7 separate regions of the Homo sapiens genome follow, and regions 1, 2, 3, 5, 6 and 7 are each linked to region 4. Evidence: promoter capture Hi-C in 16 types of primary human blood cells and fetal thymus (Javierre and others, 2016). All regions are on one chromosome and are shown on one strand. Each heading gives the region's core, a stretch centred on a gene start or on the middle of the fragment in contact. The rest is flanking DNA. Distances are from core to core; before and after follow the strand shown. Region 1 overlaps COMMD10 (COMM domain containing 10). Region 2 overlaps ARL14EPL (ARF like GTPase 14 effector protein like). Region 3 overlaps TRIM36 (tripartite motif containing 36). Region 4 holds the start of TICAM2 (TIR domain containing adaptor molecule 2). Region 5 overlaps TRIM36 (tripartite motif containing 36). Region 6 overlaps ARL14EPL (ARF like GTPase 14 effector protein like). Region 7 has its middle 12 kb from the start of COMMD10.

The links. Contacts are between HindIII fragments. The CHiCAGO score rates a contact against its expected background, and 5 or more counts as called.
Region 1: a fragment that was not itself captured here is called in contact with the fragment with the promoter of TICAM2 in region 4 in 14 of 17 cell types (erythroblasts, M0 macrophages, naive CD4 T cells and 11 more); the score reaches 11.9 in erythroblasts.
Region 2: a fragment that was not itself captured here is called in contact with the fragment with the promoter of TICAM2 in region 4 in 14 of 17 cell types (total CD4 T cells, naive CD8 T cells, M2 macrophages and 11 more); the score reaches 11.5 in total CD4 T cells.
Region 3: a contact is called between a fragment that was not itself captured here and the fragment with the promoter of TICAM2 in region 4, in 6 of 17 cell types (naive B cells, M2 macrophages, monocytes and 3 more). The highest score is 7.6, in naive B cells.
Region 5: a contact is called between a fragment that was not itself captured here and the fragment with the promoter of TICAM2 in region 4, in 10 of 17 cell types (monocytes, total CD8 T cells, total B cells and 7 more). The highest score is 8.3, in monocytes.
Region 6: a fragment that was not itself captured here is called in contact with the fragment with the promoter of TICAM2 in region 4 in 8 of 17 cell types (monocytes, naive B cells, total B cells and 5 more); the score reaches 9.4 in monocytes.
Region 7: a contact is called between a fragment that was not itself captured here and the fragment with the promoter of TICAM2 in region 4, in 17 of 17 cell types (monocytes, naive B cells, naive CD8 T cells and 14 more). The highest score is 21.3, in monocytes.

The regions. Positions count from the first base shown.
Region 1 is chr5:116,097,981-116,100,808 of GRCh38, forward strand. The region is part of intron 4 of COMMD10 (COMM domain containing 10); the gene reads left to right. Among named protein-coding and RNA genes, the nearest start is that of COMMD10, 14 kb to the left of the region's middle. The HindIII fragment of the contact is 1,467 bases long and covers 835-2,301 here.
Region 2 is chr5:116,054,095-116,056,854 of GRCh38, forward strand. ARL14EPL (ARF like GTPase 14 effector protein like) reads left to right here. Exons shown (of 4, transcript NM_001195581.2): 3 at 1-59. Among named protein-coding and RNA genes, the nearest start is that of ARL14EPL, 23 kb to the left of the region's middle. The HindIII fragment of the contact is 5,559 bases long and covers 1-2,760 here.
Region 3 is chr5:115,147,422-115,150,242 of GRCh38, forward strand. The region is part of intron 2 of TRIM36 (tripartite motif containing 36); the gene reads right to left. Among named protein-coding and RNA genes, the nearest start is that of TRIM36, 21 kb to the right of the region's middle. The HindIII fragment of the contact is 1,512 bases long and covers 586-2,097 here.
Region 4 is chr5:115,601,189-115,604,096 of GRCh38, forward strand. TICAM2 (TIR domain containing adaptor molecule 2) reads right to left here and starts at 1,291. Exons shown (of 2, transcript NM_021649.7): 1 at 909-1,291. All of the region lies in intron 3 of TMED7-TICAM2 (TMED7-TICAM2 readthrough), which reads right to left. It overlaps TICAM2-AS1 (TICAM2 antisense RNA 1), which reads left to right and starts at 967. Exons shown (of 3, transcript NR_109875.1): 1 at 967-1,272; 2 at 1,858-1,968. RefSeq lists enhancers at 613-692, 641-1,163 and a silencer at 783-1,282. The HindIII fragment of the contact is 4,479 bases long and covers 120-2,908 here.
Region 5 is chr5:115,164,213-115,166,925 of GRCh38, forward strand. All of the region lies in intron 1 of TRIM36 (tripartite motif containing 36), which reads right to left. Among named protein-coding and RNA genes, the nearest start is that of TRIM36, 4.3 kb to the right of the region's middle. The HindIII fragment of the contact is 4,022 bases long and covers 1-2,713 here.
Region 6 is chr5:116,035,933-116,038,703 of GRCh38, forward strand. All of the region lies in intron 1 of ARL14EPL (ARF like GTPase 14 effector protein like), which reads left to right. Among named protein-coding and RNA genes, the nearest start is that of ARL14EPL, 4.8 kb to the left of the region's middle. The HindIII fragment of the contact is 2,012 bases long and covers 376-2,387 here.
Region 7 is chr5:116,071,849-116,074,548 of GRCh38, forward strand. No RefSeq gene overlaps it. Among named protein-coding and RNA genes, the nearest start is that of COMMD10, 12 kb to the right of the region's middle. The HindIII fragment of the contact is 6,657 bases long and covers 1-2,700 here.

The sequences.
Region 1 (2,828 bases), core at 318-2,817, 500 kb after region 4:
GCACATGAGATTTGTTGTGGTCACAGATCCAAACCATGTCACATACCTTTTAAAAGTGAGGAAATAAAACTTTAGAAAATATTAGTCACTTTATCATATTATCCCAAGTGGTCCATGATGAAACTGAAATGAGGATTGGATCTGTCTGTCTCTAAGTCTTATTCCTTTTATATCATGCTACCTCTGGCAGCTGTAATGCTATCTTTCTTTTTCATTCTGAGAACTGTTTAGGATACTGTGGCCAAAATAGCCAGATGTGAAAACAGATCATGCCATTTAAATTGTAACAAAAATATATTACACTGACTTATATGATGAAAAAAGGTGTACATGCAATGACTTTAACTGTTTTATGGTAACTTAGGGTCCTACCCACATAAACTGTGGGGTGCTTGCAGCAGAACACATGTTGGTAGTACAGTCAGCCCTCTGTATCCCTGGATTTCGTATTCATGGATTAAACTCGCAGCAGATCAAGAATATTTGGGAAACAAAAAATTCCAAAAAGTGAAACTTGAATTTGCCATGTGCTGAGTACTATGTTAAATCCACAGAAATGATGTGTTGTCATTGTATTAGTTATTATAAATAATCTAGAGATGATTTAAAGTATAAAGGAGGATATGTGTAGATTATATTTAAATACTGTGTCATTTTATATGAGGGACTTGAGTATCTGCAGTTTTGGGTGTCTGTAGGGGGTCCTGGAACCAGCCCTCGCTAGATACTGAGGAAAGACTGTGATTCTGAATTCAAAGAGGGTAAGATCAATGAAATAATGTTAAAAAATCAAAAGGTGTTTATTTTTATTCCATTTTAAAAACTTCTTTTTTAAGCTTTATCGAGGTATAATTGATAAACAAAAATTATGCGTATTCAGGGTGTGCAATGTGATGATTTGATAGCTGTATACATTGTGTAATGATTACCATAATCAAATTAATCAACATATCTGTCACCACACAGTTACCACCTTTTATGTGTGGGTGAGTGTGTGCGTGAGGACATTTAAGATCTACTGTCTTTGAAAACTTAAAGTAAACAACGTGGTATTATTAACTATAGTCACCATGCCATACATTAGATTCCCAGAACTTAATTTGTTTTATAGCTAAAAGTTGTACCCTCTGACCAGCATCTCCTCATTTCCCTCATACCCCATCCCCAGGCAACTACCATTCTACTCTCTGCTTCAGTGAGTTAAACTTTTAGAGTATGCGTATAAATTAGCTCATACAGTGTTTTGTCTTTCTGTGCCTGGCTTATTTCACTTAGCATAACACCCTCCAGGTTCATCCATTTTGTCACAAATGGCAGTGTTTTCTTTTTAAAGGTTGAATAATATTCCATTCATTATCTGTTCATTTGTTGACAGACACTTAGGTTGTTTCCTTATCTTGGCCATTGTGAATAATACTGCAGTGAACATGAGGGTGCAGATATCTCTTCAACTGATTTCATTTCCTTTGCGTATAAACCAGGAGTGGGATTGTTGGATTGTATGATAGTTTTATTTTTAATGTTTTAAGGAACCTCCATACTGTTTTTCATAAAGGCTGTACCAATTTACATTCCCACCAACACTGTACAATGGTTTCTTTTTCTCTGCTGTCTTCCTAACACTTGCTGTCTCTTGTCTTTTTGATAATAGGTATTTTAACGATGTAACGTCATGTTGTATTATGCTTTTGATTTGCATTTCTTTGATGATTAATGATATTGACCACTCTTTTATATACCTGTTGATCATTTTTATGCCTTTTTTTGGTGGGGAGAATGTCTGTTCAGTTCCTTTGTCCAGTTTTTAAATGGGTTATTAGTTTTCCTGCTATTGAGTTTGTGAGTTCCTTATGTATTTTGTATGTTAACCTCTTATACATGGTTTACAAATACAGGTTGGGTATCACGTATCTGAAATGCTTGGGACCAGAAGTGTTTTGGATTTTGGATTTTTTGAATTTTGGAATATTTGCATATACATAATGAGATGTCTTGGGGATGGTAAGCAAGTCTAAACACTGAATTCATTTATGTTTCAAATACACCTTATATACATAGCCTGAAGGTAATCTTACACAATATTTTAAATAATTTTGTGTATGAAACAAAGTTTTGACTGTGACCTGTCATATGAGATCAGGTGGGAAATTTTCTGTTTATGGTATCATGTTGGAGTTCAAAGAGTTTCAGATTTTGGAGTATTTTAGATTTTGGATTTTTGGATTAGGGATGCCGAACCTCTGTTTTCTCACATTCTATAGGTTGCCTTTTCATTTTGTTAAGTTTCCTTTGTTGTGTAGAAGCTTTTTAGTTTGATATAATCACACTTGTTTGTTTTTGCTTTTGTTATGTATTTCATATCCAAAAAGTGATACGCTTTTGGTGTCCTATCCAAAAAATCATTGCAAAGGCCAGTGCTAAGGAGCTATTTTTCCTGTATTTTTTTCTAGAAATTTTATAGTCTCAGATCTTTCATTTAAGTCTTTAATTCATTTTTAGTTAATTTTTGTGCATGGTATAAGATAAAGGTCCAGTTCCTTTTTTTTTTTTTTGCATGTAGATTTTCAGTTTTCTCAGTACCATTAGTTGAAAAGGCTTTTTCCCATGGTGTATCCTTGGTGCCCTTGTCAAAGACTGGTTGAAAGACACTTCTTTTTATCTCTTATTGTTTAGATTTAATAAATGAGAGGGCCAATTGAAAAAAAAACTTGACATTAATAGCTTTTTGCAGAATATGATTGAAGGGATTTTAAAATTTCATCTCATCTCACTTTAATACGTCTGTTTTTTGCCATTTATTTATTTTTCTTTGTATAAATTCATGGTGT
Region 2 (2,760 bases), core at 259-2,758, 450 kb after region 4:
CAGCAGAAAAAGAAAGCCCGGATGTCAAAGATGAATGAATATTTTTCTACCAAATACAAGTAAGATTCTGACTTATTGTATTTGATCTGTGGGATTATGAAATGCATGAATTCTCCTTGACAAAGCAATGAAAGATTCCCTCTTTTTATTATTTATTATTTAAAAATATCTCCTCTGAAATATAATAGTACCCATGTGTCTGGACGTTAGCAACCTTAAGAAACAGAAAAATAGACTATAATCCCGAATTAGGAATCGATTTTTTAAAAAGGCTTCAATAGCCGTGTAATAGAGTAATGGCTTTAGTAGGAAAGATGATTTAAAAGTAACAAAAATGTATCATTAGAAGGATAAATAATATAACCATGGGAATGAACTCAGGATATTAAATGGGCACAGGACTATCATCAAGTACAATGATTGTTAGTGCATCGTAAGTATAAACTAAGTAAACTGGCTGGGCACGGTGGCTCACACCTGTAATTCCAACACTTTGGGAGGCCAAAGTGGGTGGATCACTAGGTCAGGAGATCTAGACCATCCTGGCTAACACGGTGAAACCCCGTCTCTACTAAAAATACAAAAAATTAGCTGGGCGTGGTGGCACGCGCCTGTAGTCCCAGCTACTTGGGAGGCTGAGGCAGGTGAATCGCTTGAACCCAGGAGGCGGAGGTTGCAGTGAGCCGAAACCATGCCACTGCACTCCAGCCTGGATGACAGAGCAAGACTCCATCTCAAAAAATAAATAAATAAATAAATAAAATAAAAAATAATAAACTAAGAAAACTATAAAGGAAAATGATAAATTTAACTACATTAAAATTAATATGCCCATTAAAAACTCCATAAAAACAGTGAAAGACACACCATAAAGTAGGAGAAGTTATTAATAACATAAAAAATCAGTATCCAAAATATATGAAGAATCTTACAAGTCAATAAGAAAAGTGTAAATATCCTAATAGACAAATTAATAAAATGATAAACAGACATTTCATAGAGGAAACAACAAATAAACATTCAGGATACCGAACCTGATCAGCACATACATAGAAGTGCCATACTCCCCAGGGAGTCAGAATTTAGTCTGTTGACATCAAAGCTGATGAAGCTATGAGATATGAATTAAGTGTAAAAAGGTACAACCACTATTTAAAAACAGCTCAGTGTTACCTATGTGCCTTATGACCTAACATCTTCACTCCTGAGTATAAATTAATATCTTGGAAAAAGTCTAATACATGTATAGGGAGATATGTTTAAGAAGTTTCATGGCATCACTGAAATAGCAAAGAAAATAAACTGTTAATAATCCAAATGTCCATCAACAATGGAAAAGATAAATAACTTGTGGTATATTTATACAGTGGAATACATATAGAAGTGAAAATATTTGAACAGCTACATGTACCATCATGGAAGAATCTCAACTCATGATCAGACTAACAAAGCAAATTACAAAAGGAAAATCACAATATGTTTAGGGATACCTACATATGTGTCATAACTAAGACCAAAACAAGGAAGTGACTTTATATATATACATATATATATATAATTTTTTTTATTATACTTTAAGTTCTAGGGTACATGTGCACAATGTGCAGGTTTGTTACACATGTATACATGTGCCATGTTGGTGTACTGCACCCATTAACTCCTCATTTACATTAGGTATGTCTCCTAATGCTATCCCTCCCCACTCCCCCAACCCCACAACAGGCCCCAGTGTGTGATGTTCCCCTTCCTCTGTCCAAGTGTTCTCATTGTTCAATTCTCATCTGTGAGTGAGAACATGCGGTGTTTGGTTTTTAGTCCTTGCGATAGTTTGCTAAGAATGATAGTTTCCAACTTCATCCATGTCCCTACAAAGGACATGAACTCATCCTTTTTTATGGTTGCATAGTATTCCATGGTGTATATGTGCCACATTGTCTTAATCCAGTCTATCATTGTTGGACATTTCGGTTGGTTCCAAGTCTTTGCTATTGTGAGTAGTGCCGCAATAAACATACATGTGCATGTGTCTTTATAGCAGCATGATTTATAGTCCTTTGGGTATATATGCAGTAATGGGATGGCTGGGTCAAATGGTATTTCTAGTTCTAGATCCCTGAGGAATCGCCACACTGACTTCCACAAGGGTTGAAGTAGTTTACTGTCCCACCAACAGTGTAAAAGTGTTCCTGTTTCTCCACATCCTCTCCAGCACCTGTTGTTTCCTGACTTTTTAATGATCGTCATTCTAACTGGTGTGAGATGGTATCTCATTGTGGTTTTGATTTGCATTTCTCTGATGGCCAGTGATAATGAGCATTTTTCATGTGTCTATTGGCTGCATCAATGTCTTCTTTTGAGAAGTGTCTCTTCATATCCTTCGCCCACTTGTTGATGGGGTTGTTTGTTTTTTTCTTGTAAATTTGTTTGTGTTCTTTGTAGATTCTGGATATTAGCCCTTTGTCAGATGAGTAGATTGCAAAAATTTTCTCCCATTCTGTAGGTTGCCTGTTCACTCTGATGGTAGTTTCTTTTGCTGTGCAGAAGCTCTTTAGTTTAATTAGATCCCATTTGTCAATTTTGTCTTTTGTTGCCATTGCTTTTGATGTTTTAGACATGAAGTTCTTGCCCATGCCTATATCCTGAATGGTATTGCCTAGGTTTTCTTCTAGGGTTTTTATGGTTTTAGGTCTAACATTTAAGTCTTTAATCCATCTTGAATTAATTTTTGTATAAGGTGTAAGGAAGGGATCCAATTTCAGC
Region 3 (2,821 bases), core at 92-2,591, 450 kb before region 4:
TTATAGCAGTAGGAAAATGATTAGAATGAAGAAAAGAGGAGTCATGTCTTAGAGACATATCTACAAATGTATCACAAAAACAGTATCCGAAGTGGCTCCACGTGAAATTTGTATTGTGAAAATGTTTTTAAAAATTTTTCCTTAGTATACAAAAGACAAGCCCAAGTTATCAAATCAAACAGCAAATCAAAAAGGAAAATATTCTACAGTAAACCCACATAGAATCCATATTAAATCAAACATAGATATAAAGATAAAACACGTAATACAATACTACATGGCGTTAAGATCTTTTAAAATTATATAATTAGCATTTATAGTTACTTTTATACACCATATCCAAAGACATTTAAAAGAACAGTCTTTGCTGACTGACAGGAAATGAATCGATACATAAAAGAGCAGGGGTCCCTAGCACAAAGCCCATGAAGAGGCCCAGGCAGATCCATGAACTATTTGAAATTGTGCACAAAATATTCCACCTATATACATATACATATTTACTGGTAAAAACCCACAGCTTTTATCAGATTTTCAAAAGAATATGTGATGTGACCACAAAATTTTTAACAACACTACAATAGAAGCTTTCCCACGTAGTATTGTTTTATCTGGAAAAATTCAGTAGGGAAGATCATTAGTTAATTGAGTGCAATCTATAGAAGAGTGAAAAATTCATTCATAGACCTATAATTTAGTGATTTTTAAGAGGGACCAACCATTTAATAACTTCTTATGACCTGAAACAAAGAATCATTAAGATTACTTAACTCAGTAAGCCAAAAGTTACCCCAAAAACACTACAAATAATTTTACAACATATATAAAACAATGAATGACCTTAAACATCACATTTTTGTTCAGTATTATCCCAATTTTAATAAATCAAGAAACCAATGCATGACAGTCCTTACCCATTGGTTCACAGGAATCCAGGGTTGTCCATTTACGACAGGTGCATGCATATCACATTCCCTCATTTGTAAATCTGTTCTTTTTTTTTTTTTTTTTTTTTTTAGATGGAGTCTCACTCTGTCACCTAGGCTGGAGTGTGATCTCGGCTCACTGCAACCTCTGCCTCCCAGGTTCAAGCAATTCTCTGCTTCAGCCTGCCAAGTAGCTGGGATTACAGGCGCCCACCACCACACCTAGCTAATTTTTATATTTTTAGTAGAGATGGGGTTTCACCATCTTGGCCAGGCTGGTCTTGAACTCCTGACCTCGTGATCCACCTGTCTTGGCTTCCCAAAGTGCTGGGATTACAGGCGTGAGCCACCGCGCCCGGCCGTAAATCTGTTCTTAAGAGTATGCAGTCTTAGTTGCCCCAAAAATAACTCCCTTAACTTAAACACAAACTTCTTAACCTACACCTTCTTTCATACTATCATGTATCCAATACCAAAAATGAATGGCTGAATTTGGTATACCACATTACAAAAGGTCTTTAAACAGCTACATCAATATACCCTTTGCATATAACTGTCATCACTCAAAAGAATATCTTAAAAGATGTCTGACATGATATCAGTTCAGGTAAAATTTAGCAATCAGCCCATAATAATACTTATTGGAAGTGATGTTAATAGCATGCTATATGGCATTGGGCCCCAAAATCTACTTATACAACAAACATGCAGAATATTTTTAATATCTTCATTTAAAGATATTTTAACGTTTACATTTTTAAACATTAATGCATACAAAAAAGTTGCCCCATAAAAATTTGAAAATCCTAAAATATATTCAGATAATAATTCTAAAAGCATGCAATACAATCCAAACTCTTTCACACCACAGCAGGCATATCATGAAATAAGCAGCAAAGCTACTTTTAAATCACATGCCAATGAAAATTTCATTTAGGAAAGAAAACAAGCCAAACAATTCTGGAGATGGTATGGTGCAGTGGTCAAGTTTAAACAAATAGAAATTCATATATAATCGCAGGTTTCCACACATGAAATAGGTGATGAAAATTTAGATAAATAGAAAACTAATCTCAAAAGTGTTAAAAAAATGAGTTATTTTTGGTTTTATGAAGATTATGACCAATTAAAGTAACGGGATAATGAAAAGTAAATAATGACAACAAAATCAAGCTTTAACATGTATGCTGGTGACACCCAGAATTGGGTCCTCAGAAATTTGAAAAAAAAAAAAAAAAAAAAAAAAAAAGTTCATCCCTTTTCTGTTTACCTCTGCTACTGTGTTTTTACAGTGTAAAAAAAAAAAAAAAAAGGTGTGAAACACTAAACTTAAATCAGACATTAAATTAAGACATGTAATTTTTCACAACTCGTCCAAATAGATATCTTGGCTATCTTTCTAAACAGATCTTGAAAGCTCTTTTTTTTTGAGATGGAGTCTCGCTCTGTCGTCCAGGCTGGAGTGCAGTGGCGCGATCTCGGCTCACTGCAAGCTCCGCCTCCCGGGTTCACGCCATTCTCCTGCCTCAGCCTCCCGAGTAGCTGGGACTACAGGTGCCTGCCACCACGCCCGGCTAATTTTTTGTATTTTTTAGTAGAGATGGGGTTTCACCATGTTAGCCAGGATGGTCTCGATCTCCTGACCTCGTGATCCACCTGCCTCGGCCTCCCAAAGTGCTGGGATTACAGGCTTCAGCCACCGTGCCTGGCCCAATGTGCTTAAATATTTCTTACAAATGCTAAAGAACTTTTATTTCATCTGTCTTATATTTCTTTCATTGTTTTCATAAAAACAAACAGTAGATGTTCAGAGCAATAAAGAAAATGAGAATCTTAGGATATTCTGGGAAGTAATATCCTTAATGAAAAAATCAAGGCAATGGAATTAAGAACAA
Region 4 (2,908 bases), core at 41-2,540:
AGCAAACCACCATGGCACACGTTTATCTATGTAACAAACCTGCAAGTCCTGCACATGTATCCCAGAACATAAAATTAAATTAAACAATAAAAAAATAGAAATACAGATTCTGGAAATCAAGCTTACCAAATTAAACCTTCAGAGGTGGGGGGATGCATTTTAAACAAAAGTCCCAAATGCGTCTTACCATCAGGCTTGTTTGAAAAACACTAATCTAAGGAATACTAAACACTTGGAGAAGGACAAGTTCTTCTCCTGTGTAGACGTGCAATGTGGGTTCAGGGGATGACACTTCAACTCTATATAATGGTGTATTTTTACCTCCAGATCATATAGCCTTTCCCACCCTTGCTTTTCAAAATTAAAAGGATAAATTAAAAAATAATAATAAATATGAGAATATTTTAAAATACTTTCTTTAAGAAGTTTACTACCGTGGAAAGCTGGAGAGGTCCTAATACACTGAAAACTAGCTCACAGCTGCCAGTCAAATTATTTTTATCCAAATTAGCTTTGCACAAAAAGCCAAGTAGGAAAACCCATGCCAAAACCTCCAGCACTGGCTCTGTGTGCCTGGCAGGGGCTCATGCAGAGCCTTTAGAGCATTTAAGACTCTGGGCTATTTGCTTATGGTTCTGAGGTGTCTTTTCGAAAATGGGTTTTCTAGTCAAAATGAAACAAAAAGGCAGACAGCTGTGTGGATTTTCCCTTCAGAGTAAGCCAAGTGACGGAAAGGCCTGCCCGCCCCGCTGGGGACAACAGCGCCAGCACCCGCGCCGTCGGGTCGGGTAGGCTGGGGAGGTAGCGCAGGCGGCCTGGCCCCCAGACCACCCCGCGCCCCTGGCGGCCTGGCCCCAGCCCACCCCGCGCCCCCGGCGGCGGCCCCCGCCCTAGCGCCCGGTACTTGCCTGCAGGCGAGCGCCACCACAGTCAGCCCGCGGCTTTTCTGTCTTCCTTTCTGGCCCAGCGAGAGCGCCCAGGGGGTGGGCGTCTTGCCCCGGGCGTCGAGAGTTTGGGGCCGTCCCGTACGCGGCGCGCCGCAACCCAGTCCCCGCGACCACAGCAGCCTGCTCCCCACCGCGCTTGCAGAGCCCGGACGCGCGTGAGTCGGGGGCCCGCAGAGGCCTCACCCTTGGAGGTCGCCGCTTGTCAGGCCTGACTGCTGTTGGCGCCCACCCCGCCGCCCCCGAGGGGCCGCTCGAGGCCGGACTGCTGCTTTGCCGTGGCAGGCCCCACCCGGGACGTGGCGCTGCGGGCCGGGGCGGTCCAGCTGTGAGTCAGGGGTTAATGTGGCGGGATAACTCTCTGCAGAGGGAAGGAGCTCGCAAAGAAGGGTGGAGGAGGGGAAACCGCAATGGGGAACTGTCACCGAGGCTAGTGGACTCTCCCTGCGCTTTTTTTTTTTTTTTTTTTTTTGGCATGTACCCCAAAAGCCAGAGGTCGAGGCCCAGAAAAATCTGGAAAGGAATTCCACCGTGTTTGCTCCTTACAGACCAGACAAACCGTAGATCTTTCAGAGGTACAGCGACTCTCCTGGTTCCCTAAGATAGTCTCGACTTTTCCTTTCCCTTTGCGGCCCTCTCACTTGACTACTGCAGCCAACCATACCCCTGATTAGGGGGTGCAGCACATCAGCCTCTGCCCCCAAAAACTACCCTGCGAAAGATCCTTTTTCTCAGGTTCGTTCTCCACAACCGAACAGATTGGAACTCCACTGAATAAGAGAGAACAAAAAAGCAATTAGTTAAATGAAGCGTAAAGAAGCCTTATAAAGCCCCATTGCTGCCTCAGGCACCCAATCTAGTCATAACCTAAGAGGTCCAGTTCAGAAATCTCCCCTCCCCTTTTAATTCTCAGGCAATCCCTACTCCCTGCCAAAGGAGAACCCAGTTACTGAACATCGGATGAGACCATGGATAGTAAATTGGGAGTGAAGGTCCATACCTGGGTCTCAGAAGCACAGTACAGGTAAAGCTAAGAGTTATTTCCTCCTTCTCTTTCCCCATCCAACAACAGGATGCCTTACTGAAGGTAGGCACTTCAGGTAGTAATTACTTAGTGAAATGCCGCCAATGTAGTCAGAAATACCGTATTATGTACCGTGTCAACACAATTCATTATTCACGGAGTTGATTCTCCAACCACTGCACCTCCCAACAATTCTACCTGAACTCTTTGGGTAAGCAGTGGCCTCCTAAATCCAACTGATACTTTTGTTGCCCTCATTTTTCCTGGGAGTCTCTTTGGCGATTGACAAAGTCGACCATTGTTTCCCAACACTCTGTTTCCTTGATGTTGACAACCCCACTTTGCCTTTATGCTCATCCTGCTTGTTAAAATTCTTTCAGGCCTGTTGGGAGGCCGAGGCGGGTGAATCACGAGGTCAGGAGATCGAGACCATCCTGGCTAACACGGTGAAACCCCGTCTCTACTAAAAAATACAAAAAATTAGCCGGGAGTGGTGGCAGCTGCCTGTAGTCCCAGCTACTTGGGAGGGTGAGGCAGGAGAATGGCTTGAACCCGGGAGGCGGAGCTTGCAGTGAGCCGAGATCGCGCCACTGCACTCCAGCCTGGGCCACAGAGTGAGACTCCGTCTCAAAAAAAAAAAAAAAAAAAAAAAATTCTTCTTTCAGTTTCCTCTGCCTGTTCCTCTTTCTCTGGCAACCCTTCAAAATCAGAGCTTTTCACATTTTCCCACTGAAATACCACCAATGACAGATTCCATAAACACGTACTTCCCTATTCATCACTTAGGTTGCATACATAAAAGAGCCTGAAGTCACTAGTGTCATGGGCAAATTTACTTGAACTGTTCCATCTTCTTGTAAATTGCTCCAAATTTTGCATTGTTCTTCATAATACAGTCACATGTACTAAAAAAAATCTTAAATTGGTTACAAGTTTAATT
Region 5 (2,713 bases), core at 23-2,522, 440 kb before region 4:
TGTTCATGGAAACCTAGTTGGTATCTATTTACAAGCTGAATTATCAGCAATTTTCTACATTAAATGCGACCATTCTTCATTAATGCCTGAGGTTCTCATGCTGTATATCAAAGCAATTATCTTAAAAGCACTTTATGAGTATGTATTAGTCCATTTTCACACTGCTATAAAGAAAATTACCTGAGGCTGGGTAATTTATAAAGAAAAGAGATTTAAGTGACTCACAGTTCCACATGGCTAGGGAGTCCTCAAGAAACTTACAATCATGGCAGAAGGGGAAGCAGATCTGTGTTACGTGGTGGCAGGTGAGAGAGAGCAAGAGCAGGGATACTGCCTTACAAAACCATCAGATCTTATGAGAATTCGCTATCACAAGAACAGCATGGGGAAAATCTACCCCTGTGATTCAATGGCCTCCCACCAGGTCTCTCCCTCAACACCTTGGGATTACAATTCAAGATAAGATTTGAACCTAACCATATCATTGTGGCCCTGGCCCCTCCCAAATCTCATGTCCTCACATTTCAAAACCAATCATGCTTCCAAACAGTCCCCCAAAGTCTTAACTCATTTCAGCATTAGCTCAAAAGTCCAAGTCCAAAGTCTCATCTGAGACAAAGCAAGTCCCTTCTGCCTAGGGGCCTGGAGAATCAAAAGCAAGTTAGTTACTTCCAGGATACAATGGGTGTACAGGCATTGGACAAATGCTCCCATTCCAAATGGGAAAAATTGGCCAAAACAAAGGGGCTACAGGTCCCATGAAAGTCTGAAACCCAAAAGGACAGTTATTAAGTCATAAAGCTCACAAGTGAGATCTCCTTTGACTCAATGTCTCTCATTCAGGGTACGCTGATCCAAAGGGTGGACTGCCATGGCCTTGGGCAGTTCCACCCCTGTGGCTTTGCAGGGTACAGCCCACACACCACCTGCTTTCATGGCTGGCATTGAGTATCTGCAGGTTTCCCAGGCGCATGATGAAAGCTGTTGGTGGATCTACCATTCTGGGGTCTGGAGGACCATGGTCCTCTTCTCAGAGCTCCCCTAGGGAGTGCCCCAGTGGGGACTCTGTGTGGCGGCTTATATCTCACATTTCCCCTTTGCACTGCCCTAGCAGAGGTTCTCCATGAGAGCTTCGCCCCTGCAGCAGACTTCTGCCTGGATATCCAGGTGTTTCTGTACATCCTCTGAAATCTAGGCAGAGGTTTCCAAACCTCAACTCTTGACTTTTGTGCACTGGTAGGCCCAACACCATGTGTAAGCCACCAAGGCTTGCACCCTCTGAGGCAATGGTCTGAACTGTACCTTGGCCCCTTTTAGCCACAACTGGTACTGGAACAGCTGGGACACAGGGCACCAAGTCCCAGTGATGGCAGCTGCAGCCCATCTGGAGCAGCTGCTGCAAAGATGCTGGCTGCAGTTGGGAAGGCACAGCCGGACCTGCTTGCTCTGCAGAGCCAGCGGGACCCAGGAACAGGCAGGAGCCCTTCTCCCTTCCGAGTTGGTGCGGAGGGAGCCCCATGCTCCTGGGTGCAATTGCAGCCACCCAGCTGTGGACTAGGGCATTCCTATGCTCTCGGGGGCCCAGGATGCCTCTCTTCCCCCACATGCTCAGAAGTGCCTGCTCCTACTGCTTGGCCTCTCCCCATTCCCAGTGCCCACTCTGACTTTGGAGAAAAGCTGTGGCCAAGCCCGGGCACTGACATGACCTGGCCAGGTGTGTGTGTGCTTGAGGAGATGCTGACACACCAGCCCCCTGCCACCTCAGCTCCCTCTGGACTTTGGGCGCTGATGAACGTGGGAGGGAGGCCAAGGGCAGGGCTGAGGGTGACTCAACGTGGTACTGCAGGCGTCCCTCAGCTAAAACAGTCTGGGCACCATGAACAGCAGTGGGAGGGAGACAGGCTCCTGGGAGGAAAGGGACAGGTCCCTGCTGAAACCCCACCTTCAAGCCAGGGATAGCCTGAAGCCTAGGGTCCAGGCTGCCAGTTCCACTGACTGGAGTGAAAACTTACAGTGAATTTTCCAGGCCCACCCATGGCCACCCATGGGCCAATCAGCACACACTTCCTCCCCTCTGAAGCCCATAAAAACCGCAAACTCAGCCAGACTCTGGCAGATGATAGGACGACCTGCCTGCAGGTAAGAGCTACCCACTTGGGTCTCCTCTCCACTGAGGACTGCACACTCGACAAAATGACCTGCCTGCAGAGAGGAGGTACCCACTCCGGGTCTCTTCTCTGCTGAGAGCTGCAGTTGTCGGGAGGAACTGCCTGCAGAAAGCAGCTACCCATGACAGGTCTCCTGAGAGCTACTCTTTTGCTCAATAAAGCACCTTGTTCACCCTCCAGTTGTCCATGTAGCTCATTCTTCCTGGACACAGTACAGGAACTCTGGACCTGCCAAATGGCAGGACCAAACAAGCTGTAACACAAACTGTGTCAAATACACCCTGCTGCTCGCCATGTTGTGGGTGACGATGAGGAGACAAGAGAGGAGAGAAGAGCTGCAGCCCTTCAGGGAGCCTGGACTTAGGAGCTCCCCAAGCCAGGGCTGTGACATCCTCTTTGTGGCTCTGCAGTTGCCGGCATCTCCAAGTTTCTGGGTGCCACCATGTTCCACAGTGCTTGTAGTGGGAGCCACTTGTGGTACACCTGTTCCAGCCACAGCAAGGAGCCGGCGCCCATACTGGCACCTGGACCTGCCTGCCCCGCCA
Region 6 (2,771 bases), core at 132-2,631, 430 kb after region 4:
TGGAAGCAAACAGGAAGGAGCAAGCAAGCACCTTCTTTCTCTTCCAACCTTCCACGTCCCTCAACACCCCTGTTGGCAGAGCTGGCAAAGCCAAAATGTGGTTTACATAGTCCGAGTCCTAACATCACAAAGCAGAGCATTAAAAGGTGGTTTTGGAATTGAGAGACAATGGCTTACTCACCAACTCAGGTCAGTATAATTGTTCTAACCTCAACACGTGGGGAAATAGGGGCTTAAGGTGCTAGCAGAAGCAGAAGCTAGAATTTGAGACCCATGCTCTCTACTGCTAAACCCCATTCACCTTTGGGTTTTCCTTTTATTTATTAATTTAGGACATGGTTAAGATACCATTACACTCTGAGAAGCCTCTCTGAAAGCTTCTAAAACACATACATCTTCCGTAGACCAGAAATAATACAGTGTCAAGTGGGAAGCTCCTGGAAATAACAGGCAGTGCTTCGTATAGAAATGGATGTCCAAACAAGGAAAATTTCCAAGATAATTATAAGAATAGTTAAATTTGGACTCGTTCTGACAAGAAACTTTAGGTAAATGCATTTAAATAGATTGTTGCATCTACTTTGCAAACATTATTTAGACATGTTTTTAGGGGCTTATAGAAGCTCTAAAATGACTAGCTTCATGCGGTCAAGTCACTGTTTGGGTTTCTACTTGCATTGAAAAATTATAGAATGTGCAGGAATTACAACCTAAGGATATTTTATTGATATAAATAAACTTCATTTGCAAAAATATAACCTAGAAATATGCTTACATGTCTCCTGAAACCTCACATTAGCTGAAATGCTGTTTCCTGTAGTTTCCATAAACCATTGTAACTATAAAACAGATTTAAGTGAATCCAATGTTTAAAATACCAGAAATTTAATATATCATAAATTCCAGTTTCAGATGTCAAATTTGTGAAAACATCAGTACTAAATTTATTGATGCATTTTGAATATTCTTTTTGATGTTTTCCTTTAAAGGCAATTAAAGATTTTTTTTTTTGCTTTTTATATGTTTTTCCATTTTTAATTTGCAACTCTCCTCCTCTGAGCAGCCCTTTTCTCAGCAGTAAAATGAAACCACTGCATTAGGGGTTTTCTCTAGGGACCTCTTGGAAGTATTTTATGGTTTCCATAATTGTTGATTAAGTATAGCCAGTTCTTGACTATGTCAGGTACAAGGGGTGGAGCTACTCTGGGACAAAGAGAAGGCCCAGCATGGCTCTTGCCTCCCATCCCATCCCCTGCTTTAAATAGGAGAGATTCACTTTTTTGGTTTCATACATTGAAGTTTATTTAGAAAAAAATGGTAATAACAATGTTTGAAACACATGGACTATATGGTCTCCAAAGCCCTCTCCAGATGTGACACCGCATTGACACACAGCTTGTCCACTTTTCGAGAATGTTCTGCATAGTCCATCTTGCCCTGAAGCCTCTGCAGGTCCCACACATCCTGCATATCACAGAGGCCCCTTCCTTACCTCTGAAATGACTCACCTTTGACTATAACAGAGATAAACAAATCATACCTAGTGGAGACGAAGATTCTGGAAGCAGTGTCCATTTTGGCTCATTCCTGGTCACTAAGATACATGCCCTTCACATGGCATTCTTCAAGTAACAAGAGTTTTTTTGTTTGTTTGTTTGTTTTTAACTGTTTTAATTCTGGATTAGGGGTTTTGTGCCATCTGCTGGACATAGTTATTTCACACATACAAGAGAGTTCTACATTATTCTTAGAAGTATTTTTAAAATATTAATAACTTTAAAAATTGTGAAATACATGCTTATTACAGGAAATGGGTAAATATAGGAAATGATAAAGTATAAAAAATCCAGAGATACCTATGATTACTATCTAACTGTTTTCTTACCTGCACACAAGAATGTACTTTGTTTGGTTTTAGTTGGTGGTTTTTATTTTAACACCAATTTGAGATAAACACTGCATTGATGTAGGTTATACAATAGCAGGAAGAGGGGATGCATTGCAAATGTAAGGTTCATGGAGAGAAAATGCTCTCAGTCACTGCTGTGTTTGTGAACCTTAAGGTTTGCATTGCCTATCATGCACAGCAGGAATATTATGCTCCAATTTAACAGGGCAAGGTAGGAGGAGAGGTAGGGATGGCGGAGTGGGTTAGAACCTGAAAAAAAAAGTGCCTTATATTGCTCAGACTCCTGGGAAACAGATCACTAAGTTACTATTCACAGTGAAAAATGTGCCATTGATCCTTTCTATTAGTGGGTATGCATGAGTACCAATGTCCTAGTTGCTGTGGCAGATGATGCCATAGAAATGAAGAGTCATATAGATCCTGCCTTGAAGTGGGAGAGGGCTGATACGGGAGACAAGTGTGTAAATAACTATGAACAAGCTTGCAAACATAGAAACAGAGGTGCTTATTCTAACTGGGCAATGGGGATGATTACACAATGGTGATTTTAGACATACACTGGGGAAAGCGTAAGTGGGTCCTGGAAGTGGGAACATTCTTGCACTCTAGCTAGAATTTAGTGTCAGGCTAATGGAAGGATGCGGTGACAACGAGGCTGGGAAGGTAGAATTAGGTCATGTCATGCAAGGCCTAAAATATCATGCTGAGGACCACAAAGGACCACAAAGGTTTTGGAGGAGGAAAGTGACACAATGCAGACAAGAATTTTAAGGAGAATAACTTCAGTAGCGAAGTGTGGAGATTAAAAAGACTCAAGGCAGGGAAACCAGGTTAGGTTAGAAGTTGGCCTGGGAAACATGGG
Region 7 (2,700 bases), core at 40-2,539, 470 kb after region 4:
TGGAATAATTTATTAAATTATTTGTTTAGATCAGTATGGACTTGTGGATATTCATTTTATCATTTGGTTTTAAGCTATTAGGAGTTTTTTTCAGTTGCGTTCTATGGTCCTTTAACATATCTGAATCATTGTGAGTTTTAAAATTTTATTTTAAATTTTTAGCACTTCCTTACTCCCTGCACTACAAGGTGTCCCAGGCTCATTTTGTACTTACTGCCCCAGTCCTAGAATCAGCCATTTCTCCAACAAGTCCAGGTTCTTTTTATTGGAGAATATTAGAAACCAAGATTAGGGCACTAGGTGTGATTGAGTTAATAGGCTTTCACACTAAAGTTAAACCTCAAATCAAATGTTCCACAATTATATATTTACCAAGTTGACCTTGATGAACAAATTCTGCCATACAAAAATAAGGAAAAGTCATGAAGGAATCAAAAAAAATTTTATACACACATTTGAAACACAGTATTTTACCATTAGTTTGTCGAAACATGAAAGTATTGTGAAGCGTCTTGAATTCTGGAAAGACAGCTATGAAAATACAGTATTTCAACTCATTTTTCAAGATCTCAATAAAACTTACTAACTTCAAAGTAGAATAAATCAAGGAATCAAATAAAGTTATGTGTTTAGGGAAACACTATTTCTCTTTGAATGTAGTGTTCACAGATTTCTGCATCCTTAGACATACCATTTAACTAAATTGGCTGTCCAACCAAGAGCTTAAATCTTCACTGTAAAAGGGTTTGAAATAGTTTTATTTTATCTATCCCAGGCACCCATATGATACTGGGTATGATGAGGTCTCTAAAGAAGTCTAAGGATGGATCTATGCCTTTACAACAGTTGGCTAATGAAGAAAGGCAATCATATAGAATTCCTTGCTAAAATGTTTGCTTCATATAAGAAACCCTCTCAAAGTCCAGAGAAGAAGGTGAGTAGGTGGTGTACATTTTAGAAAGTGTGAACTGAGTTGGATCTTGAAGTCTTGAAGGTTTGGTTTCTCCACACAGATGCTATTGGCACCTTGGGTGGATAATTCATCATTGTGTGAGACTGTGATTCCTGCTATGTATCAGTAACATTTGTAAGGCATTGGAACAACTCAAATACCTCTACATATTCCCTTCTGGAGATGTAGGAACTGTGGGGAGAGTATATTACAAAGAAGAGACTACAAAACTAGACACAACTGAGAATGGGCATGGCATGCTGGAACAATGAGGAGACTGGGTAGAGTCATTCAAATAATCTGTATTTACCTATGGCTCTAAGGGGCAGATTGGAACCTCTCGAGCTCTTTGGCTTGTTAGAAGCACCACTTTGTCTTTAGCAATGCCACGCCGACTCTGATCCTGAAGGAAAGTAACTGTACCCATCTTGTTAATTTACTAATCTAAGCAAACTGTAAAGAAAAAACTTTTTAAAATCTTGTGTAAATAAAAAATAGGCAGTTACTCTGAAGAGATATATTTGCCTTTTTCCCAAATGCAATAATATTAATAATTTACTTTAGACCTTTCATTTAACACACAAAAATCTTAAGTATATTTTGATAATAATAAATTAATATTATTTACAAATTACCATAAGAATGATGTTAATGTTAGGTCCCACAAAGAATTTTTCTTGGCATGTAAAATATGTTAGTACCTAATATAAAATATCCTGGGCACATAACTAATTATCTTGGTCTTCATGATCTTTTGAATAGTAACTGATGGTAAAAATAATTAATTCTCATCATTGGAAGTTCAAGTAATACAGAGAAGGTAAAAACTTACAGAAAATCTCACCAGCCTGAAATAATTGTGGACATTAACCAAACCTAATTTTAGTAATCACTGTATGCATATTTATATCTAGATCTCAATCTATATGCTATATATCTAATATATGTGATACAGATATATAGAAATGATTTTATTAAAGTGGAAAAGAGAAGAAAAAAAACTATAGAAATTGCTGTATATTAAAGAGTTGTTTCCTTAACAAAGAGATGTTTGTCCCTAAAATATTCCTCTAAGATGGGGGTCACAAACTTAAATGCCTTTAGGCATAGGGACTTTATGACTCATGCAGCAAACTATAAAAATTAAGTTGCTTCTATTGTTTTCAAAATAAGAATCTCTCTGGTTACATTGTCTATGTCATCACTGAGTAGGTTAAACAAAATAAGCAAGCACAGTATTTCTATAGCCCATGAGCCATATTCAGACTAGAGTTCTCTAGAGTGCCACCTCTGCAAAGTTTTAAAGAGATTATGGAAACATTTGGGGCCTGGCATGGTGGCTCATGCCTGTAATCCCAGCACTTTGGGAGGCTGAGGCGGGCAGATCAAGAGGTCAGGAGATTGAGACCATCCTGGATAACATAGTGAAACCACATCTCTACTAAAAATACAAAAAATTAGCCAGGCGTGGTGGCAGGCACCTGTAGTCCCAGCTACTCAGGAGGCTGAGGCAGGAGAATGGCATGAACCCAGGAGGCGGAGCTTGCAGTGGGTGACAGAGTGAGACTCCAACTCAAAAAAAAAAAAAAAGATTATGGAAACATTTTAAGATGTTATAATCAATTTATTTTTTAAATAATGTATTTCATTTTAATTTTTTAAATTTTGTTGGGACATAGTAGGTATAGATATTTATGGGGCACTGTTGTATTTCTTTAAGAGAATGTTTGATTCATAGCATTTGCTTT